2 separate regions of the Homo sapiens genome follow, and region 2 is linked to region 1. The links are contacts of gene promoters, found by promoter capture Hi-C in human tissues and cell types (Jung and others, 2019). All regions are on one chromosome and are shown on one strand. Each heading gives the region's core, a stretch centred on a gene start or on the middle of the fragment in contact. The rest is flanking DNA. Distances are from core to core; before and after follow the strand shown.

Region 1 (3,549 bases), core at 616-3,115:
ATTCTTGCAGATCCAAGCCAGGTTACTGAGACTTGAAAAAAAATTCTTAAGTTGCTTTTAGTTTTTTCCATCTTTAGTCACATGGAGGGAAGTTGGGTTTTGGCACAAGTTTATTGTAAACTCATAAACTCATAAACAATCAAAAACTGAAGAAAAAAATAAGGCCCACGATACCTGAAATTGTATTTTGATGGAAGTCAGATAAGTAATGTTGTCCTCCAAGAAAGTATAAAAGTTTACTACATTTGTATAGATACTGCTAGAAAATAAATTCACAAAAGTCCTGCTATGATTTGATTCACATCAAATTACTTTGTTCCTGGTGATTTCACAAATAGATTGAGAAAACTGACATTTAATTTCTTGTCTGTTTTATTAGAATTTTTTAAGCGGAAACAAAAGACTTAACTGTACACTAAGAAATCTCTGGGTTTTCATTGTGCCTACATTATATTGCCCTTCCATACTTAAGCCTTAAGATAAAAATCACCTGTCTACCGTCCACCAAAAAGTAATATTTTATTTTTAATCCAGAAAATTGGGTGCCCTTGCTGCATTTGAAAGATGGCTACACACAAGTATTGTGTACCAAAAAGAAATTATTTCCAATATGGGTTAATATTTTTACTATGGAGATGATAAGCTTTAAAATTTTAAATGGTAATTTACCTTTCAAATTAAAAATAAAGAATTATATGAAATTAAAAAAATACTTGTTTATGCATTTGGACACCTCCTGTTTCCACCACCATGCCTAGGCCAACCTTGAACCTCCAAATTTGTGGGTGGAACCTTGGTGCCCACTTGGACCCCCAAACTATCCTCTTCAGGTAAAGGCTCTGTGAGAACCAAGTGCAAGGTGATGGATGGGAGACTCAAGGAATGAGACAGCCAGGGAAAAACTAGGACAGTGAGGTTTCATTTTCAGACATAAAAAGATGTAGAATCAGTTGAAAAAAGGACCCTGTTCCTCTGCAGAGGCAACCACACTTCTGAAGACCTTAGACCTGGCACGGTGGCTCACGCCTGTAATCCCAGCATTTTGGGAGACTGAGGGGGAAGATCGCTTGACGCCAGGAGTTCAAGGCTCCAGCGAGCTGTGACTGTGCCACTGCACTCCAGCCTGGGTGACAGAGTGAGACCTTGTCTCGAACAAAACAAAACAAAACAAAAACGAGGTTGGGGGAAGACATTAGAGCCCTCTGATCTTCTAATAACTCCCAGGTCAACCTTGGGAGTCGTGTGGCCATGTGCTAAAGCGTCCTGGGACAACTGTAAGAGCTCTGGGAATCACTGGCAAATACAGGTGACAAACCTCATGGTTTGGCTAGTGTCTAAATGCGGTCCTTTCCACTTCTGAAAACCTGTCACAGAGGCAGAAGAAAAGGCATCTACTGTTGCAACGTTAGTGTCTACTCCTCCTCCTGTCGTTCATCACTGAGATCTAAGGTGACAGGAGCATTTTCAGCGCCTTCGCCTTGGGGTGCAAACCAGTAGCGCCCATTACGCAGTTAGGAATCCGTCTGCAGATACAATCATGGGAAACTTCCCCTTCCAACGGAACCTTGTGAGGCTTCTTTTATGCGAGGTCCATCTGAGCAGTTTCTAGGATTACCAAGTTTTCATACAGCCTCTGTTAGAACAGCAAGACGCAGCGGGCGGAGAGCTACATCCCTGTAGCTTGACTCCTGGCTGTGCGACTGCACGGTGACATCCAAGGCGGCGGAGCCACTGCCGGTACACGCTGGGCTATGGGGACAGGTTGGGCGTGGCTTTCAGGTCAGCCAGCAGCCAAAATGGGAAGGGAGGAGTCGCAGACGGATTACGCGAAGGCTCTATCCCACGAAAGGACTGGGTGCACCCCAGAACGAGGACGCGGAGCTTCCCTGTTCCAAGCAGCAACAGACTGAGAAAATCCAAGAAAGGAGGCCCGAGGGGCTGCTGTGGCCCCATCCTCCTGGCACCCGCGGCCCGGGCTCTGCGACGCCTTTCGCCCCACCTGCGGAAGCAGCGATGCCTGGCGGAGCCTGCGTGCTGGTGATCGCGCTGATGTTCCTGGCCTGGGGGGAAGGTAAGCGAGGTAGGGCGCGCGGGGGTGGGCGCGCAGTGGCGCCGCGTGGGCGGTAGAGGGACTAGGCTAGACTTTTTGGACGACTTGGGGAGCGTCCCTGTGCGTTTTAAGGCAGCAAGCGATGTTTGTTCCTCACCCGCCTCCTCTCTGTCCCTCTGCTGTCTTTGAAAAGGTCAATTTCCAGCTTGAAAACTCTACACTTTTCTTTTGCGCACATGCGGTTGTTGCCTCCTCTTACTCTACGACCCTTGGTTCTGTTTTTGGTTGTTTCCTGCTGTTATCCTGCTCTTTGAGGTCATTGTAATTTACTGTAAGAAACTTTCGCCGGATCTGCAAGGTATGCTAGCCGCAAGTGGACCTGAATTCTCAGAACAGAGTTGAATTCCATACTGCACGAATTCCACCTCCAACCGGACCCTCAGAAATAATTCATTGGTGAACATTTTATCCCTACAATAAATCACCAAGTTAAGTTTTGTATATCCGTATTATACTGTATTATGGTTTTTGTATATATATGTTAGAATCAGTTTTGGCACTGTAAAAGAGATCTCTGTGGAGCGAATACTCCCCTCCTACTTCTTTAATCCATGACAAAGAACATTTAGTTTAAAATACAGTGAAGTTAAACCAAAACTACTTTCATTAGCCCTTTTTGCTTGTTTTTTGTGTTCATACAGATAGGAATATTAATGAAAGGTGACTTGTTCTTATATTGCAAGTTTCCTTACGTTTTTCAGAAAAAGTCTGATCTGTGTTCAACCATCTGCAGCTTGAAAAAACATTATGTACAACATTTATAGCAGTCCAGGGTATAGTTTTGTCTTATCATTTTTTGATCTTAACTCATTTTACTGATGTAAGTTTGCTTTGTATAAGGGGAATACAAACACTATCCTATACAAAACTTAAAAATAAAATACTAAAATCAAATTTATTATTTTCTGCAATGATATTTTTTCTGGTCCTTCTTTGGTTTGCTTACAGCGTTACTAAATCTTTATGAATAACTTTAAAAAATACATGTAATAACATATATCTGTTCATTACAGTTAGATAAATATTTCCAGGAAAAAAATGACCAATGTTTATAAAGGAAGATGATTTCATGTTTACTATAGACCGCATAACCCTTTTTTGCCTCTATATAATAGCTTTGTAATCTCTCTGCTGAAGACAAATATTACCCATTACCAGGTTTTAAGTTCATAACATTGGTAACATTGTCAAGTTCTTTATGTTTAATGGAGTAAAACTAGAAGACGAGGTAAATGGAAAATGCATTTATTGAGACTTCTTTTTTTCAAATAGCTTTATTAAGATGTTCATATACCATACAAATCACTCAAAGTGTGCGACTCTATGGTTTTTCATTTTCACAGATATGTGTATATTCAGAGTATATTTACAGGTATATGCAGCGATGACCACAGTCAATTTTAGAACATATTTATCAATCAGAAAGAAATACTATACCC
Region 2 (3,867 bases), core at 844-3,343, 1.1 Mb before region 1:
AATGTAAATTTGCTATAAGAATTACATTTCACAGTAAATAAATAGCTGCAACTAATGAGCAAATGTTCTAGTTTACAGAAGAATGTCAAGCTAATAAATATGCTAACAGTGATAAAAGAATGAAAGAGAATGGGACATTCCTATAGTGCCAAAGTGGCATCATGACACCACACAGATTATTTTCTGATTACAAGAGGAAAAGTGCAACTTTACATAAAAAAGATTAGTCTGTTGCTATCCTAACCAGTAAGTACCTAATCGCAGGACCCAAACGTTATATGTCTCCTGATACGATGCCATACAAAATTTTAAACATTAGCTCTGATAAATTCTTGCCAAAACTGTTGATCTTCAATTGAATGAACACTTTATCTCTAACATCCAGGACATAACAGGCATATAGGAAGATCATCAGAAAGTAATCTATTGATTCTCGAATGTGGCACATTGTACAGGACAACTGTTAATATTTATTCAGCAAATTGGTATCATAGAAAAGATTACTCTAGATTAAAGAGGGCTGAGGGACATAACAGCCTGATGCAATGTATACTCCTGAAGTAGACAGTGACTTAAACATTTAAAGGAATCAGGGACATTTGGCTAAGAACTGGATGTGAGGTAATATATAATTGTTGTTGTTGTTTTTTTTTTTTTTTTTTTGTTTGTTTTTTTTTTAAAGACAGAATTTCACTCTGTCACCCAGGCTGGAGTAGAGTGGCACCACTTAGGGCTCACTGCAACCTCCGCCTCCCAGGTTCAAGCCATCCTCCTGCCTCAGTCTCCCGAGTAGCTGGAATTACAGGCGTGCGCCATCATGCCTGGCTAGTTTTTGTGTTTTTAGTAGAGATGGGGTTTCACCATGTTGGCCAGGCTGGTCTTGAATGGCCTCAAGTGATCCACTCACCTCGACCGCCCATGCCTGGGATTACATGCATGAGCCACCGCGCCCGGCTATATTTTATTAAATGTATTACATGTTCTTTTAGTCAGGCTTCACCACAGAAATAGAACTAATTAAAGATACAGCTATATCTATATTATCTATATCTGTATGTATATCTATGTCATCTATATCTATATCTATATTGAGGTAGAAAAAACAGAGAGTGAGAAGAAGGAAAACAGAGAGAGATTGAGGTTTTTTTCTTAAGGAATTGTCTTACCTGATTGTGGAGGCTGACAAGTCTGAATTCTGTAGGGCAGGCTGGCAGGCTGAAAATTCTGGAAAGAGTTGATGTTACAGTCTTGAGTCTGAAATCTGAATGGTAGGCCAGCAGGCCGAAACTCAAGCAAGATTTCTTTCTCTCTTTTTTTTTTTTTTTGAGACAGATTCTCGCTCTGTCGCCCAGGTTGGAGTGCAATGGTGTGATTTCACTCACTGCAACCTCTGCCTCCCGGGTTCAAGCAATTCTCCCGCCTCCTAAGTAGCTGGGATGACAGGCGCCTGCCACCATGCCCAGCTAATTTTTTGTGTTTTTAATAGAGATGGAGTTTCGCCACATTGGCCAGGCTGGTCTCAAACTCCTAACCTCAGGTGATCCACCCACCTCAGCCTCCCAAAGTATTGGAATTACAGGCGTGAGCCACTGTGCCCTGCTGCAAGATTTCTATATTGCAGTCTTGAGGCAGAATTCTTTCTTATTCAGGAAAGCTGTCTTTGTGTAGACCTTCACGGATTGAATATGGCCTACACACATTATGAGAGGTGATCTGCTTTTACATAAAGTCAATTGATTGTAAATCTTAATCACATCTAAAAAAATACCTTCACAGTAACATCTAGACTAGTGTTTGACAAAACAACTGTGCACTACAGTTTACCCAAATTGACACAAAAAATTAAGCATCGCAGGTGTTGTCCTAGTCAACACTACTATACCAAAATACCATAAACTGGGTGTCTTATGAACAACAGAAATATATTTGCCATAATTCCAGATGCTGAAAGTCTGAGATCAAGGTGCCAGCACGGTTGAATTCTGGCGAGGGCCCTCCTCTAGGTTACAGACTGCCAGCTTCCCATTGTATCCTAACATGGAAGAAAGAGGGTGAGAGGGGCCTCTGAGGACCCTTTTATAGGAGCACTAGTCCCATGCATAAGCACCCCATCCTCATGACCTAATTACTTGCCAAAGGCTCTACCTCCTAATACCATTGCATTGAGGGTTAAGAAATTAATGTATGAATTTGGGAGGCACACAAAAGTTCAGTCCATAACAGGTAATAATTTTTTTTTGCATATAAAGAATGTTTTTTGAGATTTAAGGAATTTTGTGGTGGAGTATGCTGTTTGCTATTTTCTTTGAAGTATCCCAGAAAAGTAAGTGATTTTTTAAAAGATTGAATTTTCAGATTGGGTTCATACGAATCTACCTATATGGTATTTATAAAAGACACTTCTAAAACATACGGCATGGCAAGGTTTGAAGTAAAGGATTAACAAGATACACTAGGTAAATAATAATCTAAAGAAAGCTGAGTTAACTATATTAAGTAAGACAAAATAGACTTCAACTTAAAAGCATTATTATATACAGAGTCCCATCATGTAAAGGGCTTGATTTGGTAATATTATAATAACAATTATAAACTTATAAGTCACTAATAAAAATAACCTCAAAGTATACAAGAAAAATTGGAAAGAATTACAAAACGAAATGGACAAATTCTCTACCAAGGAAGGAGATTCCAACACATTTCTTACAGTCACTGATAGATTAATAAGACCAAAATTAGTAAAGATATGGATAAGATAAGCAAAATTATAAGCTTGATTTATTGAATACAGAATTCTCAGTACAAGGAATATATGTCTTACTGTTGTATTCAATTTGAAGTTTCTAGGAGAGAATTATCTTATTTGTTATTAGAGGATACTTTTGGATCTGACACTACTGTTCAAATAGACCATGATTAGATATACCTGAGATCTTAGAATAAAGGTTTAATAATTATTCTATATTAAAATTGATTTTTCAGGTTACCTCCTAGGAGATGAGCTTCAAAATCAGGGTCAGTTTATGAAATGGTTTCATATAATGTATTGTAACTTTGAAAGAAACACTTCTAGACTTAAAATCATTTTGTTCTGAAGCTACATTTGTAAAACTTCCTTTATTTCAAAATTAGATTATAATATCAGCCCAGGATAAGTGAGCATTGCTCATTTGAACCTAAATTTGAATCTCTAAATTATATTGAATCTTCATAAGACTCAAGACTCCACTAATCTTAAGGAACTTATAAAATTAATGATTTATATCTGGACTCAAGACTCCACTAACCTTAAGGAACTTATAAAATTACTAAGAATTTTTGGTTTTACATGACTAAATAAATGATTTATATCTGGATTTTGGTAATTAAGTTTTTCATCCAATAAGGACCAAAGTAAGTGTTGGAATATTGATAGTGGGAATTATCATTTCTAATTCTTTCACATGCTTTCATATGTTTTCTTTTCCAATGAATGGAAATATTGTGATACATCAGCATGTTTTCCCACAGGAAAAACATTATTTGTGGCATGCCCTTTTCTTCATCCTGATTCCAAGGGTCATTCTACACTTTAGAGGTGCTAAACATTTCAGTTTCATGAAGTGCTAAATATTTAAATTTCATGCAAAAGCTACGTATGTATAAGTTTGGGTGTGCCTGAGTAAATGCATTTGTCTAATTAATAGCATTTTACCTGTGAAGAAAAGTCCACTTTAGTATTTTAGGGTTTTCCTTGGTTATTAAAAAGTATAGATTTCTTACGTAATGATTGCAGTAAAGATATAGTGTATTTTGTCTATAGACACACAGATTCCTATATACATTTTTGTCAAAAGCTTTATGTTTTCTCTTATTTTGAAATACATG

The links. Contacts are between HindIII fragments. The study calls those that stand out against the background at their distance.
Region 2: a fragment that was not itself captured here is called in contact with the fragment with the promoter of VWDE in region 1 in 1 of the 25 tissues and cell types used here (dorsolateral prefrontal cortex).

The regions. Positions count from the first base shown.
Region 1 is chr7:12,402,181-12,405,729 of GRCh38, reverse strand. It overlaps VWDE (von Willebrand factor D and EGF domains), which reads left to right and starts at 1,865. Exons shown (of 29, transcript NM_001135924.3): 1 at 1,865-2,071. The coding sequence starts at 2,014. RefSeq lists silencers at 943-1,132, 2,070-2,119, 2,013-2,307 and enhancers at 1,444-2,009, 2,010-2,577. The HindIII fragment of the contact is 10,470 bases long and covers 1-3,549 here.
Region 2 is chr7:13,500,720-13,504,586 of GRCh38, reverse strand. The region is part of intron 2 of LOC107986770 (a long non-coding RNA gene); the gene reads right to left. Among named protein-coding and RNA genes, the nearest start is that of ETV1, 490 kb to the left of the region's middle. The HindIII fragment of the contact is 7,390 bases long and covers 1-3,867 here.